Linked DNA regions of Homo sapiens: all the other regions are linked to region 4. The links are contacts of gene promoters, found by promoter capture Hi-C in blood cells and fetal thymus (Javierre and others, 2016). All regions are on one chromosome and are shown on one strand. Each heading gives the region's core, a stretch centred on a gene start or on the middle of the fragment in contact. The rest is flanking DNA. Distances are from core to core; before and after follow the strand shown. Region 1 overlaps LOC124903664 (a long non-coding RNA gene). Region 2 holds the start of EEF2K (eukaryotic elongation factor 2 kinase). Region 3 holds the start of POLR3E (RNA polymerase III subunit E). Region 4 holds the start of LDAF1 (lipid droplet assembly factor 1). Region 5 overlaps CDR2 (cerebellar degeneration related protein 2). Region 6 overlaps SDR42E2 (short chain dehydrogenase/reductase family 42E, member 2). Region 7 has its middle 21 kb from the start of CDR2-DT.

The links. Contacts are between HindIII fragments. The CHiCAGO score rates a contact against its expected background, and 5 or more counts as called.
Region 1: a contact is called between a fragment that was not itself captured here and the fragment with the promoter of LDAF1 in region 4, in 9 of 17 cell types (erythroblasts, total B cells, fetal thymus and 6 more). The highest score is 17.6, in erythroblasts.
Region 2: the fragment with the promoter of EEF2K here is called in contact with the fragment with the promoter of LDAF1 in region 4 in 5 of 17 cell types (erythroblasts, fetal thymus, monocytes and 2 more); the score reaches 12.3 in erythroblasts.
Region 3: a contact is called between the fragment with the promoter of POLR3E here and the fragment with the promoter of LDAF1 in region 4, in 8 of 17 cell types (M2 macrophages, M0 macrophages, endothelial precursors and 5 more). The highest score is 15.8, in M2 macrophages.
Region 5: a fragment that was not itself captured here is called in contact with the fragment with the promoter of LDAF1 in region 4 in 7 of 17 cell types (erythroblasts, total B cells, M0 macrophages and 4 more); the score reaches 18.0 in erythroblasts.
Region 6: a contact is called between a fragment that was not itself captured here and the fragment with the promoter of LDAF1 in region 4, in 1 of 17 cell types (fetal thymus). The highest score is 5.8, in fetal thymus.
Region 7: a fragment that was not itself captured here is called in contact with the fragment with the promoter of LDAF1 in region 4 in 5 of 17 cell types (erythroblasts, M2 macrophages, M0 macrophages and 2 more); the score reaches 10.9 in erythroblasts.

Annotation. Positions count from the first base shown.
Region 1 is chr16:22,338,575-22,341,899 of GRCh38, reverse strand. All of the region lies in intron 1 of LOC124903664 (a long non-coding RNA gene), which reads left to right. Among named protein-coding and RNA genes, the nearest start is that of CDR2, 34 kb to the left of the region's middle. The HindIII fragment of the contact is 4,639 bases long and covers 1-3,325 here.
Region 2 is chr16:22,204,942-22,208,215 of GRCh38, reverse strand. It overlaps EEF2K (eukaryotic elongation factor 2 kinase), which reads right to left and starts at 1,938. Exons shown (of 18, transcript NM_013302.5): 1 at 1,537-1,938. RefSeq lists silencers at 1,438-1,707, 1,868-2,167. The HindIII fragment of the contact is 13,136 bases long and covers 1-3,274 here.
Region 3 is chr16:22,295,952-22,299,226 of GRCh38, reverse strand. POLR3E (RNA polymerase III subunit E) reads right to left here and starts at 1,818. Exons shown (of 21, transcript NM_018119.4): 1 at 1,690-1,818. It overlaps TRL-AAG2-4 (tRNA-Leu (anticodon AAG) 2-4), which reads right to left and starts at 2,087; the gene lies at 2,006-2,087. RefSeq lists silencers at 598-737, 1,748-2,197 and enhancers at 948-1,087, 1,530-2,074. The HindIII fragment of the contact is 19,375 bases long and covers 1-3,275 here.
Region 4 is chr16:21,156,997-21,160,318 of GRCh38, reverse strand. It overlaps LDAF1 (lipid droplet assembly factor 1), which reads right to left and starts at 1,645. Exons shown (of 5, transcript NM_001301771.2): 1 at 1,573-1,645. It also overlaps a transcript of DNAH3 not described here. RefSeq lists enhancers at 364-513, 648-1,148 and silencers at 1,406-1,585, 1,636-1,765. The HindIII fragment of the contact is 5,830 bases long and covers 1-3,322 here.
Region 5 is chr16:22,357,444-22,360,671 of GRCh38, reverse strand. All of the region lies in intron 2 of CDR2 (cerebellar degeneration related protein 2), which reads left to right. Among named protein-coding and RNA genes, the nearest start is that of CDR2, 16 kb to the left of the region's middle. RefSeq lists a silencer at 2,382-2,451. The HindIII fragment of the contact is 9,749 bases long and covers 1-3,228 here.
Region 6 is chr16:22,187,457-22,190,591 of GRCh38, reverse strand. It overlaps SDR42E2 (short chain dehydrogenase/reductase family 42E, member 2), which reads right to left. Exons shown (of 13, transcript NM_001394319.2): 13 at 1-453. The coding sequence ends at 199. It overlaps LOC124903666 (a long non-coding RNA gene), which reads left to right and starts at 2,580. Exons shown (of 2, transcript XR_007065028.1): 1 at 2,580-2,621. RefSeq lists silencers at 1-85, 226-275, 366-455 and an enhancer at 1-280. The HindIII fragment of the contact is 605 bases long and covers 950-1,554 here.
Region 7 is chr16:22,393,687-22,397,088 of GRCh38, reverse strand. It overlaps the pseudogene SLC68A2P. Among named protein-coding and RNA genes, the nearest start is that of CDR2-DT, 21 kb to the right of the region's middle. The HindIII fragment of the contact is 7,194 bases long and covers 1-3,402 here.

The DNA.
Region 1 (3,325 bases), core at 685-3,184, 1.2 Mb before region 4:
CCTAAAGTGATCCGCTTGCCTCAGCCTCCCAAAGTGCTGGGATTACAGGTGTGAGCCACTGTGCCCAGCCTAAAAATAGGTTTTTAATCCATTTTGAGTTGATTTTTGTGTAAGGTGTAAGATAAGAGTTCAACTTCATTCTTTTGCATGTAGATACACACATTTTCTATGTATAAAATCATGTCATCTGCAAGCAGGAACAATTTGACTTCTTTCTTTCTGATTTGGATGCCTTTTTTTTTTTTTTTTTCTCCAGAGTCTCACTCTGTCTCCCAGGCTGGAGTGCAGTGGCGCAATCTCAGCGCACTGCAACCTCTGCCTTCTGGGTTCAAGCAATTCTCCTGCGTCAGCCTCCCAAGTAACTGGGATTACAGGCTTATCACCACCACACCTGGCCAATTTTTGTATTTTTAGTAGAGTGGGGGTTTCACCATGTTTGCCAGGCTGGTCTCGAACCCCTGACCTCAGGTGATCCGCCTGCCTCGGCCTCCCAAAGTGCTGGGATGACAGGCGTGAGCCACCAGCCTTTTATTTTTCCTGTGCAATTGCTATAGTTAGGACTTCCAGTGTTTTGTTGAATGGAAGAGGTAAGAGTGGGCATTCCTTCTATACTTAGTTTGTTGATTTTTTAATCATGAATGGTTGTTAATTTTCAGATGCTTTTTCTGCATCTATTGAGAAGATTATATGGTTTTTGTCCTTCATTCTGTTAATGTGGTGTATCACAATTATTGATTTGCATATGTTGAACCATTGAACCATCCTTGCATCCCAGGGATAAATCCAACTTTGTTTTGGAGACAGGGTCTCACTCTGTCACTCAGGCTGGAGTGCAGTGGTGGTCATAGCTCACTGCAGTCTCAAACTCCTGGGCTCAAGCAGTCCTCCTGCCTCAGCTTTCCAAGCAGCTGGGACAATAGGCACACAGCACCACACCTGGCTAATTAAAAAAAAAAAATTTTTTTTTTTTTTTTTTTTTGCAGAGATGGGGTTTTGCTATATTGCCCAGACTGGGATAAATCCCACTTGATCCTGGTGAATGAGCCTTTTAATGTGCTGAATTTGGTTTGCTAGTTCTGGTGAGGTTTTTGCAGCTGTGTTCATCAAGGATATAAGGATATTGGTCTAATTTGCTTTTATTTTCTTTCTTTCTTTCTTTCTTTATATTTTTAGGTGGAGTCTCGCTCTGTCGCCCAGGCTGGAGTGCAGTGGCGCGATCTTGGCTCACTGCAACCTCCGCCACCCAGGTTCTAGCGATTCTCCGGCCTCAGCTTCCTGAGTAGCTGGTATTACAGGCATGCGCCACCACTCTCGGTTAATTTTTAGTAGAGACGGGGTTTCACCATTTTGGCCAGGATGTTCTCAAACTCCTGACCTCAGGTGATCTGCCCATCTTGGCCTCGCAGTGTTGGGATTACAGGCATGAGCCACTGTGCTCGGCCTAATTTTCTTTTCTTATAGTGTCCTTGTCTGGATTTGATATCAGGGTAGTGCTGGCCTTGTAAAATTAGTTTGAAAGTATTCCTCTTCATCAAATTTTTGGAAGTTTCAGAAAGATAGGTAGTAGTTTTCCATAAATGTTTAGTTGAATTCGGCAATGATGCCACCAGGTCCTGGGCTTTTCTTTGATGGCAGACTTTTTAAAATTATTGATTCAACCTTCTTACTCATTGGTCAGATTTTCGGTGTCTTTGTGATTCAGTCTTGGTAGGCTGTATGTGTCTAGGAACTCATCCATTTCTTGTAGGTTATCCAGTTTGCTGGTAATTTTTTATGGTAGTCTCTTAGGATCCTTTGTATTTCTTTTCTTTTCTCTTTTTTTTTTTTTTTTTTTTTTTTTTGAGACAGAGAGTCTTGCTCTGTCTCCCAGGTTGGAGTGTGTAGTGGCGTGATCTTGGCTCACTGCAACTTCCATCTCACGGGTTCCAGCAATTCTCCCACCTAAGCCTCCCAAGTAGCTGAGATTACAGGCATGTACCACCACACCCAGCTAATTTTTTTTTTTCGAGATGGAGTTTTGCTCATGTTGCCTAGGCTAGAGTGCAATGGCATGGTCTTGGCTCACTGCAACTTCTGCCTCCCGGGTTCAAGTGATTCTCCTGCCTCAGCCTCCCAAGTAGCTGGGATTACAGGAACCTGCTAGCATGCCTGGCTAATTTTTTGTATTTTTAGTAGAGACAGGGTTTCACCACTTTGACCAGGGTGGTCTCAAACTCCTGACCTCAAGTGATCCGCCCACCTTGGCCTCCCAAAGTGCTGGGATTACAGGCATGAGCCACCGTGCCTGGCCTGATCCTTTGTATTTCTATGGAATCAGTTGTAATGTCTTCCCTTCTCCCTCTCCCTTCTTTCCTTTCTTTCTTTCTTTCTTACAAGGTCTCACTCTTATCGCCCAAGCTGGAGTGCAGTGGTGGGATCTCAGCTCACTACAACATTCCCTTCCCAGGCTCAAGTGATTCTCCTACCTCAGCCTCCCAAGTAGCTGGGATTACAGGTGCCTGCCACCATGCCCAGCAAATTTTTGTATTTTTTAGTAGAGATGGGGTTCACCATATTGACCAGGCTGATCTCAAACTCCTGACCTCAGGTGATCCACCTGCCTTGGCCTCCCAAAGTGCTGGGATTATCTTTTTCCATTTCTAATTCTATGAGAGTCTTCTCTATTTTTTCTTAGCTAGAAGTTTGTCAATTTTATCTTTTCAAGAAACCAACTGAATTTTGTTGATCTTTTCATTTTTTTCAGCTCTGGTCTTTACTATTTCCTTTCTTTTATTTATTTTTGAGACGTAGTCTTGCTCTGGTCTTTATTATTTCCATTTATGTATATATGTATGTATTTTTGAGATGGAGTCTTGCTCTGTTACCCAGGCTGGAGTGCAGTAGCGTAATCTCATCTCACTGCAACCTCCGTCTCCCAGGTTCAAGCGATTCTTCTGCCTCAGCCTCCCGAGTAGCTGGGACTATAGGAGCGTGTCACCATACATGGCTAATTTTTTTGCATTTTTAGTAGAGATGGGGTTTTTCCATGTTGGTCAGGCTAGTCTCAAACCCCTGACCTCAGGTGATCTGCCCACCTTGGCCTCCCAAAGTGCTGGGATTACAGGTGTGAGCCACCTCACCTGGCCTATTTCCTTTTATTAACTGGGCCTAGTTCTTTTTATTTTCCTGGTGCCTTGAGGTGTAACATTGGGTTGTTTATCTGAAGTCTTTTCTTTCTGATGTGGGTGGGGATTGCTATAAACTTCTGTCTCAGAGCTGCTTTTGTTGTATTTCATGTTTTGTGTCCATTTTTGTCTCAAGATATTTTTAAAATTTTTCCTTTTAG
Region 2 (3,274 bases), core at 689-3,188, 1.0 Mb before region 4:
TGTACACCGATGATTATGTGTAAACTGTGACCACTTCAGTTCTGTCTTCTGGCCTCCCCATTCCCTGCAGAGGATAAGAACTTCGGACCCCACCCCCTTCTTTGAGAATGGGGGCTGAGAGGAGGGCGGACGCCAATCCCAGCCATGTTACACTGAAATTCATGTCCTTGAGAGGTTTTACTGTAGTTGTTGAATTAATAGCTGAACAAAGGAATGAACATCGGGTGCTGTGGAGGCCACACAGAAGGAAGACACCTGCATACGCCATCTCTGAACTCTACCTCCTTCCACCTGCCTCTTCCCCAGCTCAGCTTAAACAGCACTTGCTACAGGAAGCCTTCCCCCATAACCCTCTCCCCTTTACACACACAGTGGGCATTCTCAGCTCCCACCTGCTTGCTCTGTATTCCCATTTACTCCATCTCGCTTTTTAGAATCTGTTTATGTGACTGGCTTCCTCTTAGGGAGCTTCTGTGGGCCTGGGGATCACTCTGACCCTCGGTTTCCTCCTCGCTAAAAACATTAGGATAGACTACGTGACTCAATTCGCTGTGACTTCACAGCCTGTCCAGGGCCCTCAACCACAGGGCTCTTGGCCATCAGATGTCTCCCGGGGCCATAGACTATGACACTGTGTGCCAGGCACTGTTCCAAGCACCTGACATATACATACTCATCTACTCTTTCCAAGGATACTAAGTGGTAGATACTAATACTGTACCCATTTTACCGATGAGAAAACCGAGGGCCAGAGAGCATAAATGAGCTAGAATTCCAACCCAGGACTCCAGCCCTAGTGTTTCCTGCTTTCCTGGCTGAAGAAGCACCCACCACCGAGGTCCCAGAGGTCGGGCTCCCTGGGACCGTCCCCCTGGGCAGATCTCACTTCCCCATGCGGCCCATCTGTCACACTCAGGGCGCAGCTGGGCTGGTTCCCCGAAATCCCCCAGGCGCGCGCAAAAGGATCTAGGCCGGGGCTTACCCGGGAGGCCCCCACCCCCGCGCGGCCACCGGCTTATTAATGCCCAGCCCCTTGGCACACATGTCAGCAGCGCCTGCCAACAAACTCCCGCAGCCAACAATGCAGCAAGGGCGCGTCTATACAGTCCTGGAGGTTCCGGGAATTCGGGCTGACGCAGGCCTCTAGTTCAGGGGAAAGGTGGGGGATGCGGCTCTGAGCCCTGCAGGGGACAGGAAGGCAGCGATGCGCCCACACTCTAGGGGCCCCGAGGGGGGAGGCCCCCAAACTCTCTGTCACTTGCAGCCAGATCACCGCCCATTGCTTGCCAATTGCTTTCCATATCCACATCGCCTTTAATCCGCACAACTTCCCCATTTCTCCAAAGCAAGCACTTAGCCCCAGAGAGTTTAACAACCAGAGGAGAAGCGCCCCCACACTCTCCTTCCATGCCTTCTCCGGCCCCATTCCCAAGCCCAGACCCAGCACGCTCCAGACGCCAGCTGCACCCGGGCGCACAGGCCTGCAGCGCGGGCTCCCAGCCCCCCACAGCCTTGCCGGCCGCGGTCCACACCTACCTCCCTCGGGCAGACAGGCGCGGCAGCCGCTGCCCACGGCCGCGAGGGTCCAGAGGAGTTGGCAGAGGCTCGCGGCCCGGAGCTCCAGGGTGCAGGGCGGGCGGGCCCCCCGAGAGTGCCGGGGAGCGGAGAGCGGGGAGCGCTAGCTGGCGCTCCGGGCAAGCAGCTGGGGCCACGCGGGGTAGATGGACCGATCCCAGGGCGCGCGGGGCAGTCGGAGTGATCCCAGGAAGGGCGCAGGGGCCGTTGGGACGATCCCGGGATGTGGGAGCGCGTGCCAGGGGGGACTCGCGTGCAGGCGACAGCGAGCGGGACTCGGGTGGCTGCAGGGCCGGGAGTGCGGGCGCTCGATCCAGGAAGGAGGGGAGCTGAGGCTGAAGCTGGGGCTGGTCTAGGTTGAGCAGAAGCGGGCGGGCAGGGGCGGGGCTGGCCTGGCGGGCGCACGGCGTGGCGCTCACGTGGCCGCCCCCAGGTGGCCATCACAGCGCCTGCAGCCGCCTAGCGGGCCTCCTGGCTCCGGCGCTGGCTCCCAGCCCCAGGTGCAATGGTTAGCGCTAAGTCTTGGCTCCCCCTGCTGAGTACACAGTGTCCGGTTCTCCTGCTCAAGGCTGGCCTAGCATCCGGCAGCGAGGGGGCAATTCGAGGGAGTGACCAACTTCCGTCCTCTCCCGCCGCGCCTCGCCATTCTCGCCTGCTTCTCGCTTAGTTCCTGTATTCCTGTCCTTTCCAAAATCATTAGTGATCCAAGCCCATCGCTTGTTTGTATGTATCTCTATCCATAACCTTAAAATATTTTTTATCGGAAATACTTTGTTTTTCCTGATTTCTGCTTTGTAAAAACAGGCACGTATGACGATTGCAATTATTTGTGTAGTTTTAAAATTAGTATCTCCTTTAGTTATTCCTAACTCTTGACACAGGGCCTGGGTGGCACACAGTAGATGCTTAATAAATACCTGTGGCATGAGTGGTAGAGTGGCTAAGGTATAAAAAAGAAAACGAATTAAAACTAATAGCTACTGTGAACACTTTAATATTAGGTCCTTCCAGATACTTTGTTAGTGAAATTTTAGAAATTTCACACATTCTAGATAGAAAAGTAGTAACAATGACATGTTTTGAGGGATTTCTCTCATTCCATCTTCCCAGCACTTTGGGAGGCCGAGGCCGGCAGATCACCTGAGGTCAGGAGTTCGAGACCAGCCTGGCCAAAACGGTAAAACCCTGTCTTTAGTAAAAATACAAAAAAGCAGCCGGGCGCGCCTGTAGTCCCAGCTACTCTGGAGGCTGAGGCACGAGAATCGCTTGAACCCTGGAGGCAGAGGTTGCAGTGAGCCGAGATCGCGCCACTACACTCCAGCCTGGGTGAAGGAATGAGACTCCGTCGCAAAAAAACAAAAACAAAAAAATAAAAAAGAAAAAAGAACAAAACTGAGGCTTATAGAGATAATGACATGCCCCAGGTGAGGCAGCTAGAAAAGGCAGAGCCAGCAGTAAATCCAGACTTCTCTGATTTCAAAGTTCAGGCTCTCCAAAGAACTTTTTTCCTTATTTATAAACCCCAAAGAGAGTAAACTCCAGCTTTTGGCAAGACAAAATTGCACCTGGAATTCTGACCCTGGGGCCGTCAGGCAGGAAGGGAAGATCAAAGATGCTGAACTAGTCTGTCCAAGCCCAAAGCAAGATTGGAAAAAAAAAAAAGACGCTACTGCTTAAAGCTCTATGGCCCTTGGGCAAG
Region 3 (3,275 bases), core at 569-3,068, 1.1 Mb before region 4:
CCTTTGCACATCATCTATTCTCCCACAGGGATTTCCAAGGTTGCTCCTTTTTATTAAATATCATCACCGCCTGCAGGAGAGGATAGGTTCCCTGACCACCCTATTTTAAAAGCCTCCCCCAGCCTCCTCCCAGGCCCTACCACATCTCTGTTTTCTTTCCTTGGTGGGTCTCATCTTAATCTGGAACTACCTGGTCTATTTGCTCAGGTGTTGTTTGTCTTCTGCAATAGAACGTAAGCTCCATGAAGGCTTCTCAGTGCTTCAGTTTCCTCAACTATGAAATGCAGACAATCATACTTTACTTCATCAAAGCTGTTATGGGGAGCATTACTTTAAAAAAAAAATCCAGTGCTGGTTCTCTCAATACCTAGAACAGTGCCTGGCACGAAGTTGACACTCAATATAGTACAAAGAATACTTTATATTTAATCTTCTCATTAGCCCTATCAATAGAGATTTATCATCTTCAATTTGGAAATGACGAGACTGAGGTTCAGATATAAGCAACTCATCCAAGGTGGAATGAGGACAGAAACTTGGGTCTCGCTATGTCAAAGATCCTTATTCTTATTCTTAACCACTATACTGCACGGTTTTCTGATAAACGGCAGTATGGTTAAGTGGGTAAGAGCTTGGACCCGAGAACAAAACTGTGCAGGTTCAAATCCCACCACAGCTGCTTGGCATCTGTGACCCACCTGAGTTGTCTGGGTTTGGTATTCCTCCCTATTTTCATCCCTAAAGTAGGGAAACTAAGTACCGACCTCCAGACCCCTGCGGGGAAGGAGTAAGGACAGGACGCTAATAAACGTAACCTCTGGGAAGGTTTGTTATTACTTGACAACATGTTTTCTGCCAACGTAAGCGGGTAATGACGCTAAGCCACAAGTCAAACGCTGCAAGCAGGAGCGTCACCCGGTTTCTACTGAGCCGTCACCACAACCCTATGAGGTAGGAATTTCTATTATCTCTATTTCACAGATGAGGAAACTGTGGAGATCGCTAAGATCTCTTCTTTCCGCCTCCAAGCCCAAGGAATTCTAAAGCTAACCCAAAGGAACGACCTTGTTTGTTTACTGACACCTCCTCGGACCGAATGGTCAGGGCTGTATCCGGAACACAGAGTTGGCTCGGTAAACACTGAATGGTTGCCTGAATAAATGAATGAGGAATCCCTGGCCTCGCCGGGCAGAGGCTAATCCGGTTCAGCTGCGAAGTGGGGGCTCCGGCAGGCGCAGGTGCCCTCCCTGCCCATCGGGGCGGGCCGCCGATCCCGAGCCTCGCTGTCCAATGGGTTTCTGCTCCCTCGCGGGTGGTCAGGCCCCCCTTCTCACGCCCACCACGCAGTCCCTGCCGCGAGCCGCCACTACACCCGACGCGCGGACAGGTGTTTCTTCCGTAGGAGGCCTCCCAGGCCCGGATAGGGCAGGTCGGCTGGACCCTGAGTCACCGCCGCCAGCGTCGGCCGCGGCCTCCCCAACTCCCAGGTGTCAGGTCAAGGAAGTCAGAGTCCGGGGTCGGCCTGGAGCCGGCTGCCCCTCCTCCCCGCCCGAGTCCCGAGAGGCCTCCAGCTGCTAGGCACAGCGCGGCGCGGGCCTCCTTGGCCTACTCGGGAATCTAGCCCAGGCCCACGTCGTGAGTGCGGTCCGGCTCAAGCCCCAGCTCGGGCACTGCCAAGACGGGACTCACCTCTCCGCGGGGGCCGAGCGCGGACGGCGGCAACGGCCCAGTTACCCGCGGGCTGCAGAGACGGCGGCGGCCCGGCTCTCCTCTCAGGCGGCGGCCATGTTGCTGGTGGAGAAACTCCGGCGGACACGTGGGGGGGAGCGGGCCGGCCCCAGCGTTTCCTCTTACCCACAATGCCCCGCCCCGGTGCACGCGGCTCCGCCCCCTCCGCCGCGCCATTCATGCAGGCCGTGAGCCCCGCCCTGCAGCAGGGGGCGCTGATGGCACGCGCAAAACTGAGCCAGGAGTGTATGCAGCGGGGACAAAAAGACAGCAACCCTGGCAGCGGTGGGATTCGAACCCACGCCCCCGAAGAGACTGGAGCCTTAATCCAGCGCCTTAGACCGCTCGGCCACGCTACCCAGCTGCAATATGTTTATGCCAGAAAGCTACTTAATGCTTTTGCTTTTGCATTTAATCTGGACATTGCGAGGCGTTTTCGCTGAGGTTTTTTTTTTGCTTAACGTGTGTTCAAGGTGATCCCTATAGAATTATTTTAAAAAGCCGTGTTTTGGAAAATAAACACTTGCTCCAGTCTTTAGACCCAGGTTGGTTCCGAATAGGTATTAGAGCAAAACGCATTTTTAGAAACTTTACTCTGAGTTGGATGGTTAACCCGGAGACCCCTGGTTAACCCACAGGTAATCCATACGACCCGGATTGGGTGTCTCCGGGAGAAGAAATTGATCTGATCAGAAACATGCACCAGGGGATCTGACGGCCAAACCCTGGAGCTGGTCTGGGCAGTTGTCTCTGAAAAATTATGTTTAAATTTTTACTTACACAAATAACACGCGAATTATTGCAAAATATTTAAACTTTGCAGATAAGGTACAAATGCTCTTTGACCTTGACTCGCATCCTAGGCCCCTCCGCCGAGGTAACTAACCATTATTATCTGTTTAATATGAACTATGGTTTGAATGTGTCCCCCAAATTTCATGTGTTGGAAATTTAATCCCCAATGTGGCAGTATTGTGTGGTGGGCCCTTTAAGAGGTGATTAGATCATGAGGGTGGAGCCCTTATGAATGGATTAATCTCTTCATGGATTCATGGATTAATGGGTTAATGGATTAATGGGTTATCTTGGGAGGGGGACTGATGGCTTTATAAGAAGAGGGAGAGAGACCTTAGCTAGCAAGGGAGCAGCTCAGCACCCCCTCCATATGATGGCTTGTACTGCCTGGGAACTCTGCAGGTGTCCCCCACCAGCAAGAAGGCCCTCACCAGATGCACACTCTTGACCTTGGACTTCTCAGACTCCATAACTGTAAGAAATAACTTCCTTTTCTTTACAAATTACCCAGTTTCAGGTATTCTGTTATAAGCAACAGAAAATGGACTAAAACACTATATATCTTTCTAGATCTTTTGCTGTGAATTTATATGTTTATATCTATATGGATATATATAGATATAGCCATAGAAGATAGCTTTGTTTTTATTGTGTATGGATTTGAACACAAATATTGTCACATTATTCATATAGATCTGCAATTGGCTGTTATTTTTCACCAGACTGTATTTTAAAATACCTATCCGTGTGGA
Region 4 (3,322 bases), core at 396-2,895:
TTGGTTAAATTAGATATATTTTTTAACCCTTGTTGAGTTTTCAAATATAAAAAAAAAATCATTCTTATTTTATATTTCCCAGAACTGGCTGGACACAGAGATATCTTTTCCATTTCTCCCTTTAAACTGACCTGACCTACAGTACAAATGCTTAAAAGATTGTGTCCACGTGGCCAAAATTAATTGAGAGATCCTCACATTTATTTATCATATAGGGGGTAATTTTATCTACTACTAAGCTGTACAGGGTCTAGTATGCAAATTAAAGCACATTTTAATCATCCCAGCTAGACATCCTCTGCTACTTCCCTTTTGTAAAACAAGAAACCCTTTGGAGGGGAAAGTTGAGGAGGGGACTAATCCCACCACCCCACATTCTCTCTTTGAAGCTGCCTCTGGCGTAGGTCTTGAACTTGGGATGTTCCCAGCACTCAGTTCCCATAATCTCATCTCTGCAGCAAGCAGAAACAAGCGGAGTTCCCCTTACAGGTCTCCTTTGGCCTGGGAGCCTCAAGTGCCACCCAGACCGGTTTGGGGAGTCCGATGAGAGAGTGCGTGGGGCGAATGCCATCGGCCACAGCCTTCAAATGCGTCTACCTGGCCACCAATTCCCAGACCCCCTGGTCACTCACTCCTCGGAGGGGCCTCCCCAGGCACGGAGCTGTCTCCCGAGAAGGGAAAGCGAGAACCCGGCGCGGCCAAGGAGTGCCCCGCCTTCTTCACGCCTGGGGGACTGGGCCAGGCCAACACCAGCTAACCCTTTCCCCTTCCAAGGCTCCAAATAAATCTCCTGGCCCTCCCACCCCCGAACCTCCAGGGGAAAACGGCTACCTCGAAAGTTCAAGCTGGGAGGAGGGGTCACATCTCTGGTTGGGGGATGGGAGCTACAGGGCGCCTCGAGCTCACACTGGCCGCCCCTCCCCATCCGGGCCCAGCCTTTCAGCGTTCAAAAGCCAGGGAGACCCAAGGAGAGGAGGAAGGGAGTGAAATGCAGGTGGAGAGGGGGTCCGCGTCCCAGAAGGCACAGAGACTGAATAATGGGAACTCAGAGGGGAGTCGAGTACTTAGTTATTAATTTGGGGGTAAAGAAGCCCCCTTTGATACTTGCAGATCTCTCTGCAGCGATGGGGAAGGGGACCTCGGTGGAGAAGAGGGGCTGGGTGGTGAGGAAGGCGCCCGTTTTCAATAATCCTAGGGAGGTTTGCCTCGACGTCTTCCCCAGGTTCCCCAGAAAGGGGCACAGTCTCGGGGTGTGGTGGTGCTAGCTACCATTTTACCTAATCTAGTGGTAGTGTGTGTGTGTATGTGTGTGTGTGTTGGGGGGTGGCGGGGTGAGTGTGCATTTAGGGGTGGGGAGGAATCGTGTCTCCTCGTGCGCTCCCAGCCCCGTCCCGGCGACTCATAAGCAGGAGACGCCCCTTACACTAACCCCGGGGCAGAAAGCTACGGGCGTGGGACCCCGATAGCGCGCTCACGCCGTCGCCCCCGCGCTCCTCCTCTGTCCCCGCCCGGCGAGAGGGGTCTAGCCACCCGGGGCACCCGGACCCCCACCCCCAAGCTCCGAGCTCTCACCTGCTCCTGACCGCCGAGCAGCCCCCACCGCGTTTGCAGGCGAAGCGAAGAGAGGCAGGAGGAGGAACAAGAGGAAGAAGGAAAGAGCGTCCCGAGAGGGAGCCAGAGCCGCCTGCCTCCGCCCCCTGGCCCGGGCACCGCCCCTCGGCTCTTCTCCTCTGGGCTCGCCCCGCCCGTGGCCGGAAGGATCCGGCAAAGGCGCGCCAAGGCCCGGCGCCCAAGGCTTTGCAAAGCGCGCTCGCTCCCACTGGCTTTCGGAGCCACTAGAACAAGCCCTGAGAGGTTGACAGCTGAGGAAACTGAGGCTCAGAGAGTGTCCCTTCCCACACGACTGGCTTGGAGTGAGAAAGCTCAGACCACCTTCAAGACAGGCAGACTGGCAGCCGAGAATGAGTTTTCCAAGGGTGTCAGGGTTTCCCCTCCTGTATGCCTAAAACCAGCTGCTCTGGAACGTCTCTGGCGCTCAAGACACACACGTGATGAAGTATCACCCTGGCTGGAAGTTTTTAACCATGACTGCTCAAATGCGAATGTCATAAGCCAGTGAGATCCTTTCAGATGGATTGGATGTCCATTTTACACATGAAAAAGTCCAGGCTGAGAGAGACAAGATAAATCAATCCAAATTCCTCGGTTTGCATGGATCCAAGTCGGAGCAGGAGCCCCTGTTTCCCCTGGCCCCAAATCTGCCCTATAGAGTAAGGTTTCTGAATAGTATGCTATTGACATTTGGGGCGGAATAATTCTGTTTCTGAGCTGTGGATTGTAGAATGTTTAGCAATATCCTAGCCTCTACCCATTAGATGCCAGTTACAAGAACCGCCCCCCCCCACCTCCAGTTGTGTCTCAAAATATTGCCAAATGTCCCCTGGAAGGCCCCATCGTCCCGAGGTGAGAACCACTGCTATAGAGCATGATGGCAACTTACTGTGTGACTAAGTAACCTCTCTGAACCATGGCTTCAACCATAAATTAGAGAGAGGGATAAGCCCAACCATTGGTCTGCTGTTGCACAGTTCTCAGCCACTTTCCAGACAGGGACCTGTGTTGACCGACCTCTCCTCTTTGCCTGTGGCCATAGCAACCTGGAAAATAAGTCTTTAGATAACAAAAAGCTGGCAGGGTGCGGTGGCTCACACCTATAATCCCAGCACTTTGGGAGGCTGAGGTGGGCAGATCACTTGAGGCCAGGAGTTCCAGACCAGCCTGGCCAACATGGTGAAACCCCATCTCTACTAAAAATATAAAAACTAGCCAGGCATGGTGGTGCGCACCTGTAATCCCAGCTACTCGGGAGGCTGAGGCAGAAGTATCGCTTGAACCTGGGAAGTAGAAGTTGCAGTGAAGACACTGCACTCCAGCCTGGGCAACAGAGTGAGACCCTGTCTCAAAAAAAAAAAAAAAAAAAAAGAAGCAATCACAGGGTTGTAGTGAGGACTGGTGCAATAGTGTGGCTGTGGCTGTCGAGAACTTAGCACCTATTGAGGCACAGAGTAGGGGCTCAAAAATATTTGCTTGGGATGATGATTTATGATGATGATCACGACAATGATATGATAAACCACAGAATCCTGCTGTAATTCCACAATAGCAGAAAGAAGAGCTAATGGTGGGGATAGGACAGACAAGAATCCCTAAATTCTTAAGTTTTAGCCAATCTTGTCTGGCGTCATGCACTTTGTTCAGCTGCAAAATGCTGGGTTCCCCACCCAGGAAAAGATTGTGTGTGTGTGTGTGTGTGTGTGTGTGT
Region 5 (3,228 bases), core at 710-3,209, 1.2 Mb before region 4:
TGAAATTTAAAATGAGACAGTCCAGAAGAATGGTCTGGGAACAAACTCATCTGAGCGAATGAAAAATAGTGCAGAGAACTGGTGAAAATACTAGGACAAGATCCCTAAGATTCTGACTTATTATGGAAATAGACAACTTGGACACTGCCAAAGGGTATTTTGTAAGTAGAACCACAAATATTCTTTCAAAGACTCTTGGAGGGTTTCAAACAATCCTCCTAAAAATTGATCAGTATTTTTGGTAGGCATCATTTTTAATGTAAAAACGAAAAAAACAAAAATTTCCTTTTATGTGAAAACGAAAAAAGATTAAACTATTCAAAATAATGGTTAAACTGGCTTCAGAGAAGCCTGTAGCCTGTCTTACTTTTTTTCAGTGCTAATTTGAAAAACTTAGATAATTTTTTAAGAATCCAGAGCAAGTTTTTTCTGTTCTGGGTGGAAGGAGGGGAGGAGAGAACTCTTACTTGGGAGAGTAATGAGATCAGACACCATTGGATTCATTTACACTTTGCTACAACCGTGTAAGCAGCCTACAGCCTTGTGTTTTGGTTACTTCCCTGCTTAGACACCTGCATTATCCCCTACAGGAGTTGTGCCTAGCACTCAAAGTAGTCTGGCCTTCAAGGCATCCCTTCTTTCAAGAGTTCATGCCCTCTTTGGAAATGGAAAAATATTTTGTGCTGCTTTTACTGCATGTATCAATATTCTACTGCATATGATACTTAATTGATTTGCTTTATTTTCCTTTCCCCTTATTTCCCATTGCAACAGTGAGCACTGTTGTGTTTATTCATGGTCTTTCACACATACTAGGTAATCAATACTTTGTTGAAATCAGTATTTTAACAGAGGAGAAACAGCTTACAAAGCTCTTCTAATAACTCCTAAACTTTGGGTTTCCACCTCTGGAGATTTTTAAGGCAGGCAGAAGGGGCTCTGGCCTCTGTTTTAGGAGATTCAGGTTTAAACCCTCAATTTTAATTGCAAATAGCTAGAGAATTTAGACATATGAATTACCCCTCAGATTCTCTTTGCTCCGTTATGGAATGGTGATAATGCTTACACTGCTTTGGTGTAGGAGTTTTCTGAGGGGATGAGATTATGGAGGCATATATATTTTGAACAGTATAAATTGTTACTTTGGTATAGGATTTTTCTGAGGGGATGAGATTATGGAAGCATATATATTTTGAACGGTATAAATCGTTGCATAGTTTACCAATGTTTTAAGAATTTTAGTAGTGAGCCGGTGGCGGTGGCTCACTCCTGTAATCCCAGCACTTTGGGAGGCTGAGGCAGGTAGATCACGAGGTCAGGAGTTCAAGATAAGCCTGGCCAAGATGGCGAAACCCCATCTCTGCTAAAAATAGAAAAATTAGCTGGGCGTGGTGGCGGGCGCCTGTAATCCCAGCTACTCAGGAGGCTGAGGCAGAGAATTGCTTGAACCCGGGAGGTGGAGGTTGCAGTGAGCCAAGATTGCGCCACTGCAGTCCAGCCTGAGCAAAAAAGCGAGACTCCGTCTCAAAAAAAAAAAGAATTTTAGTAGTGAAAAAAGTCTTTAAAAATTTGTATGGATATATAACAGCTTTACATATATCTGGGGCGCCTGTGACGTTTTGATACAAGCATACAATGTGTAATGATGAAATCTAAACTGAGATAACCATGACCTCCAACATTTATCATTTCTTTGTGTTGGGAATATTGCGTATCTTTTCTAGCTATTTTGAAGTATACAATAAGATATTGTTAACTATAGTCATGAAAGAACTTAAATTCTGAAAAAATAAATCTTCCAGAATTACTGGAAATAGACTTTAAAAACAATCTAATCCCACAATTTTAATAATGGGATTATAGGTGGTTTCTATTTTCATGTTCATGCCTCCCGCCACCAAATTTCTACAGGGGAAATATATTTCATCAGGGGAAAGAGATTTTTCAAAAGTAATAGGAAATATTTCTTTATTATTGTGGAAGTTCATTTTGATAGTAAATTCAGAGGATTTAGGCTGTAATCCTTAATTTCAGGATAATCCCAACACTGCTTACAAGCCAGATTTCCACTCCATTTCTATGCATTTTTACTTGGGGTCGTTTGTTTCTATCTTTCCCTGCGTTCCAGGTTAGGATTCCACAATTGCAAATAGGTATTTATGTAATTCTGCTGGCCTTTGTTTTTTAAAGATTTACCTTAATTGTAAAGGTGGCCTGTTTGTAGCTTTTGTGCATAACTGGAACCTTGTACTCATAGTTGAGGTGACAGTCTGTGCAAATTCCTAGACAGTGAGATAAACCCAAGGCATTTTGCTATAAGTTGACATTTTTGCCCACATTTCTGCTACCCCATGACCCCCTTCCCCCACTGTTTTGCTTTAAATGTCTCCCTTTCCTGTTTACTATGGCAGTCAGATTCATTGGAGGCTGTGTATCAAAGAGAAAACCAGCATGTCAGCAGCATGTCTGTACCTTGAGATGAGAGGTAGGAAATAAGCTAACCCATTTCCTTCTAGATTCAGAAAAAAAATGAAGCACTGACTCCATAGACCTAGATGTCTGGCCTTACATCAGTACGTACTTAGAGAGCTCATCATTTTTCTTTAAGTTGCTGACTGGTTTTGTCAGACTCTTCTGTAGGTCCCCTATAACTGAATCTTGGAGAAGTGAAGGGCTTTTCTGATTAATTTTGGTTTTATATAATAAGATTAAGCTCCTACCATGTGAAAACAAGCTCCTTGACATTCTTTAGATTGTTGTTAAAGCCAAGTCATCTAAAACCAAAATATCACAAGTTCTTAAATGGTTTCATTATGTTGTTATCACAGGTATCACAGGTTTTTATATATCAAACAAGGAACTTTCTATAGTTTCTTAAATGGCCTGTTTGTACTTATTTGCATATTGACTTGTTTCCTGTATGTTGGCCACAACTCTAACTTGAACATCCTATCTGTAAGAGAACAACAACTTGAGACCCATCTGGTATCTGGTAGGAACTGTAAAAGTCTCCCCCTCAGATTACCGGGGCAATTGCTGCCATGGGAATAAATACAGAGAAATAATCTATAAATGGAAAAGCGGGGAGAGAATTCATGGTTAATAGGCTGTTTTCCCAAGAGGGCTAAAGCCAAAGCCCTTCTCAAAACCTTTCAGTTAAATCCCCCTTGACATCTCACAGTCTGAGTCATGCCAAGCACAATAAGCTGTTGTGAAGAAAAGTCTAGA
Region 6 (3,135 bases), core at 3-2,502, 1.0 Mb before region 4:
TAGATAGGGGCGTGGCCAGAAGTCGGCGGTCCGGGCTAGGTCTGGAGAGCGGCTCGGGGGCGTGACCAGGATTCAAGGGGCGGAGCGGAGGCGCGCTCAAACCCAGAAGGCGGGGCAGGGGCTGGTACAAGCCCAGGGAGCCGGGCGTGGGCGAGGGTGCAGCGGGGCCGACCCTAGCGGGCGGCGGACGGCGGACGGTCACAGGCGCTCCACGGCGGCGTGCAGAGGCTGCAGGCCTAGGAAGTGCAGGGCCAGGGCGAGCAAGCCGAGGAACAGCAGCAGCCTGAGCAGCAGGCGCAGGAGGGTCCGCGCCGTGGAGCCGCGGGGCCGCCGGGTCGTGGACTGCACGTATAGCTCCACGGCGTCGGCGAACCTAAACTTATCCGGCGCGTAGCCGAGCTGGGCGCGGGCCTTGGCTATCTGGAAGGTGTGCGTCACGGCCACGCTGCGCACCTGCGGGGACAGGCGGGGCATCCGAGGGCGGGCCTCGTGGGAGGAGGACATCCTCTACTTCGTTGTTTACGGAAAGGGAAAAGAGAGGGCAGGGATTTCCCCTCCATTACATAGTGATTTAAAAGGACCCGAGTGCAGCGTCTTGCTCCTGCGATGCCCTCATTAGAGAGGTCTTCCTTTCTTCCTTACATGTTCATTTTTATTGGAGGGTGCCGCCTTTGCGTCGCCCCCTCCAGCCCCGCTGAATTCGCACCCTATTTAACTCCTTGGTCCCTAAGAAGCAAAGGTCTCACCCCTACACTCATCTTCCCGGCCTAGCACGGTGCTGGGACTCAGGAGGCCCTTGATACATTCTTAGGCATCCGCTAGGAGAAGGTGAACGCCTGCCAGAAACATCTGCAGGAAACGACCTTGGCTTCCTGCCCCCAACCCCAGACCAACTGTGACCAGGAGGGCCCCAGTCGCAGCCTTCATGCCCTCGCTTATTAACTAAGCTTCCCTAAGAGAGGAATTCGATTATGCAGAACTGATTGCTCTCCAGGGTCTAAGCTGTGTTTCCCCTGCTGCCAGATGGCTTGGGGCCCACTGGTTTGAAGGGTAGTAATGATAGCTATCAGCAGTTAAGGAACACACACCCTGCATTTGGCCTGGACTAAATCCTTTCTATGCCCTACCTCATTTAATCCTCTCAGGTGGTACTAGCACTATCTGTTCTGTGCATACTTGGAAAAAGGTCAGAGAGGTTGAGTGACTTGCCTGGGGTCGCACAGGGGAGCCAGGTTCTAGCCTAATTTCTTCTCTGCTGTGCTGGCACCTGGAGATGTTCTCCCACCTGACTCATTTCTTCCTCTCTTTTTCCTCAGCCGGACCCTGGGGAAGAATCCACCAGCTGCTGGATTCTCCCATGGCATTGAAACAGCCCCTGGGGTCAAACCTGTGGTCTTGGATGCTTAATGGGGGGTGAGGAGAGAGGCCAGTATTTGTCCCTTTTTTTCCTAGTCAGTAAGTGCAGGGCTTTGGGGAGCACAGGAGTTGAGTTACGCTAGATAAGCAGGGTCCCTAATACACCTAGATGTCTCTAGATGTCACCTCTGGGAAGCTTTCTCTGACTTCCTCAGAGTTGGCTGAGGCGCCCCTTCTGTGTGCACTGGAGTTTCTCGCGATTTTCCCAAGAATGGCTCTAATTACAGTGTTGAGTTGCCTGGTTAGTGGGCTGTCTTCCCCTTTGAACTAGGAGCTCCCTAAGGGCAAGGACTATGTCTTCTTGCCTCCGTTGCTCAGCACAGTGCCTGGTAACATTTATGTTAAATGCATAAAAGGCTATAAAGTCAAACTGGAGGGCTGGTTGATGTGTCACAGATTGACCAGCAGAGGGTACCCGAGCCACAGCCAAGGAACTTCCACAGTTAAGGACATTGCCCCTGAGCTGAACAAGGAAATCCCCAAGTTAAACAAGAGGGAGAGGAGCCAAGTCCCTGCCTGACCACAATTCAGCTGCACCCTGGCAGCTATTTTATGTGGATGTGATTCCTGATGCATTTTCACAAGCTAATGGTTAAGCTTGAAATCACTGAGGTCTGGGTTCAAATCCCAGCTCTACCATTTAAGTGAGTGATCACGGGCAGGTTATTTCACTGTGTGTCTCATTTCCTCCTCTCTAAATGGAGAGGACAATGTTGTCTACAACTCAGTTAAATGAGATAAAGCACAGTGCCTGGCATACTGTCACAACTCAAGAGATTGTCAGTATCATCTTATTCTCTCCTCCACTGATCCGGATGGCTCAAAGGAGAAGCCATAGGTGACTACTTCTTTCTGTGGCCCATTCTCCACTCTCCCCCTCTGACTCCCCTTGTTAAAGAGCACTGAACATGGAGTCTGAAGCCAATTCCAGTATGGTGTGGCCTTGGACAAATAATTTTCCTAGTGCTCAATTTTTCATCATAAAATGGAGATCACGATTTTTTTTTGACCTTTTTAACTTAGCAGGGCATCAGAGACAATAAAACGAGAGTGGACTGGAAGTAATTTTTTTTTTTTTTTTAGATGGAGTCTTGTGCTGTCACCCAGGCTGGAGTACAATGGTGTGGTCTCAGCACACTGCAACCTCCACCTTCCAGGTTCAAGCGACTCTTCTGCCTCAGCATCCCGAGTAGCTGGGACTACAGGTATGTGCCACCACACCCAGCTAATTTTTGTATTTTTAGTAGAGACAGGATTTCACTGCGTTGGCCAGGCTGGTCTCAAACTCCTGACCTCAGGTTATCCACCCGCCTCAGCCTCCCAAAGTGCTGGGAACAAGTGTGAGCCACCGTGCCCGACTGGACTGGAAGGATTTTTGCAAATAACCTCAAATACCACCGATTACTTTGCTATTTACAATCTGTGATGAAAACATCCTCTCTTTTAACTAAGCAAATATAAACCTGCATCATCATTATTATGAGAATAGTATTCTGAGCCAGGCATGGTGGTGCATGCCTGTAATCTCAGCTATTTAGAAGGCTGAGGGGGGAGAATCTTTTTTTTTTTTTTTGGTTTTTAGGGGCAGGATCTCCATCTGTTGCCTAGGCTGGAGTACAGTGGTGCAATCTGCAGCCTTGAACTCCTGGGCTCAAGTAATCCCCCACCTGAGCTGGGACTAAAGGCATGCACCACCTTGCCTGGCTAATTTTAAAATTT
Region 7 (3,402 bases), core at 191-2,690, 1.2 Mb before region 4:
TTAGGTAGGCACTATTTTTTTGTTGTTTTTTAAGACAGGGTCTTGCTCTGTCACCCAGGCTGGAGTGCAGTGGCACAATCACGGCTCCCTGCAGCTTTGACCTCCTGGGCTCAAGCGATTTTCCCACCTCAGCCTCCCAAGTAGCTGGGACTCCAGGTGTGTGCCACTATGTCTGGCTATTTTTTTAAATTTTTTATAGAGACAGGGTCTCGCTATGTTGCCCAGGGTGGTCTTAAACTCCTGGGCTCAAGTGACCCTCCCACCTTAGCCTCCCAAAGTACTGGGAGCCATTGTGCCCAGACCAGTAGGTACTATTTTGATCCTCATTTTACAGATGAGGAAACTAAGGCACAGAGAGGTTGAGTAACTTACCTAGGATTGCACAGCTAGTAAGTGGAGAGCCAGGCTCCTCCTGGGCAGACTGCAGATCCATGCTCTTAACCCAGTTACTCCTCTGCCTCTCTGGGGAGTGTAATATGGAAGAGTGACAGACCTATACCAACAGTTATTAGGGAGACAGAGTATTTATTCATCCTTTTCTCCTTTATTTATTCAACTCCTCAAAAAGAAAACCAGCCTGAGGGCTGGGTGCGGTGGCTCACGCCTGTAATCCCAGCACTTTGGAAGGCCGAGGCAGGTGGATCACTTGAGGTCAGTAGTTGGGAGACGAGCCTGGCCAACATGGTGAAACCCCATTTCTACTAAAAATACAAAAATTAGCCAGGCATGGTGGCACATGCCCGTAATCCCAGCTACTTGGGAGGTTGAGGCAGGAGAATTGCTTGAATCTGGGAGGCGGAGATTGCAGTGAGCTGAGACCATGCCATCACACTCCAGCCTGGGTGGCAGAGCGAGACTGTCTCAAGAAAAAGAGAGAGAGAGAGAGAGAGAGAGACTGTCTCAAGAAAAAGAGAGAGAGAGAAAGAAAAGAAAGAAAGAAAAGGAAAGAAAAGGTAAGAAAGAAAGAAAAGGAAAGAAAGAAAGAAGAAAGAAAGAAAGAAAGAAGAAAGAAAGAAAGAAAGAGGAAGGGAGAAAGGGAGGGAGGGAGGACGGAGAGAGAAAGAGAAAATGAAAACATAGTGCTCACCCTTCATTATTTTATCCAATAAAGTGTTAAAGAGACTTAGCCAAATGAATAACAAGAACAACAGATTCCAATGAGCTGTCATTATTTTTTTTTTTTGTCTGAGGCAGAGTCTGTCACCCAGGCTGGAGTGCAGTGGCACCGTCTCGGCTAACTGCAACCTCCACCTCCCAGGTTCAAGTAATTCTCTGCCTCAGCCTCCCAACTAGCTGGGATTACTGACACCCACCACCACGCCCGGCTAATTTTTTGTATTTTTAGTAGAGACAGTGTTTCACCATCTTGGCAGGCTGGTCTTGAACTCCTGACCTCATGATCCACCCACCTCAGCCTCCCAAAGTGCTGGGATTACAGGCGTGAGCCACCACGCCTGGCCAAGCTGTCATTTTTTACCACAATAATTTACACGTGTTAATTCTCTAGAAATTAAGAATAAATTTCAAGCAACTTTGGATTTTCTTTTATTTTTTGTAGAGACAGGGTTTCGCTGTGTTGCCCAGGCTGGTCCCAAACTCCTGGCTTCAAGCAATCCTCCTGCCTCAGCCTCCCAAAGTGCTGGAATTACAGGTGTTAGCCATTGGGCCAGACCTGGATTTCCATTTTATAATAATTTTTTATTGAGATCAATAGAAAGTCCTATGTTTTTGTGAGGGCTTAAGAAAAATGACTGTTAAAATCTTTTGGCTATACTTCTCTTAACAACTAGTAACCAAGAGAGACTAAGAGAAAGTATTTACTGATCATATATCTGACAAAAGACATGTGCCTAGAATATACAAATAACTCCTACAACTCAATAATATGAAGACTAATTACTCAATTTAAAAAGACACAAATTATTTTAATAAATAACCAAAAAGATACATGGATGGCAAGTAAGCATATGAAAAGATGCTCAACATCATTAGTAGTCATTAGGAAAATGTAAATCAAAAACACAGTAAGATACTACATACCGGCCAGGCGTGGTGGCTCACGCCTGTAATCCCAGCACTTTGGGAGGCCGAGGCAGGCGGATCACGAGGTCAGGAGATCGAGACCATCCTGGCTAACATGGTGAAACCCCATCTCTAATAAAAATACAAAAAATTAGCCAGGCGTGGTGGCGGGAGCCTGTAGTCTCAGCTACTCGAGAGGCTGAGGCAGGAGAATGGCATGAACCCAGGAGGCGGAGCTTGCAGTGAGCCGAGATTGCGCCATTGCACTCCAGCCTGGGCGACAGAATGAGACTCTGTCTCAAACAAAAAAAGGAAAAAAAAAGTAAAGAGAAAGGTAAACATCTACCTTCCATACAACCCAGCCATTCTACTCCTAGGTATTTACTCAAGAGCAAGGAAAGCATATATCCATACAAAGACACAAAATGCTCATAGCTTTATTTGTAACAGCCAAAAACCAGATCCAACCCAAATGTCCATCAAGAGATGAAAGAAGGAAGTCCTGGCCAGAGCAATCAAGCAAAAGAAAGAAAGAAATTACATCCAAATAGGAAGAGAAGAAGTCAAACTATCTGTCTTTGGTGACAATATGATTCTATACATAGAAAACCCTAAAGACTCCACCAAAGGACTCCTGGAACTGATAAATGACTTCAGTAAAGTTTCAGGATACAAAATCAATGTACAAAAATCTGTGGCATTTCTTTACATGAATAATGTTCAAGCTGAGAACCAAATCAAGAATGCGATCCTATTTACAGTAGCCACAGAAAAAATTAACATACCTAGGAATTCATCTCACCAAGGAGGTGAAAGATCTCTACAAGGAGAACTATAAAACACTGCTGAAAAAAATCATATATGACACAAATGGAAAAACATTCCATGCTCATGGATTGGAAGAATCAATATTGTTACAATGTCCATACTGCCCACAGCAATCTACAGATTCAATGCTATTCCTATCAAACTACCAACATCATTTTTCACAGAGTTAGAATAAACTATTTGCAATTTCATATGGAACCAAAAAGAGCCCAAATAGCAAAGCAAGCCTAAGCAAAGAGAACAAAGCCAGTGACATTACCTGACTTCAAATCGTACTATAAGGCTACAGTAACCAAAACAGCATGGTACTGGTACAAAAACAGCCACATAGACCAATGGAACAGAACAGAGAACTGAGAAATAAAGCTGTACTCTTGCAGCCATCTGATCTTCAATAAAATCAACAAAAATAAGCAATGGGGAAAGGATTCCTTATTCAATAAATGGTGCTGGGATAGCTGGCTAGCCATATGCAGAAGACTGAAACTGCACCTTTCACCACATATAAAAATTAACTCAAGATGGATTAAAGATTTGAATGTAAGACTTCAA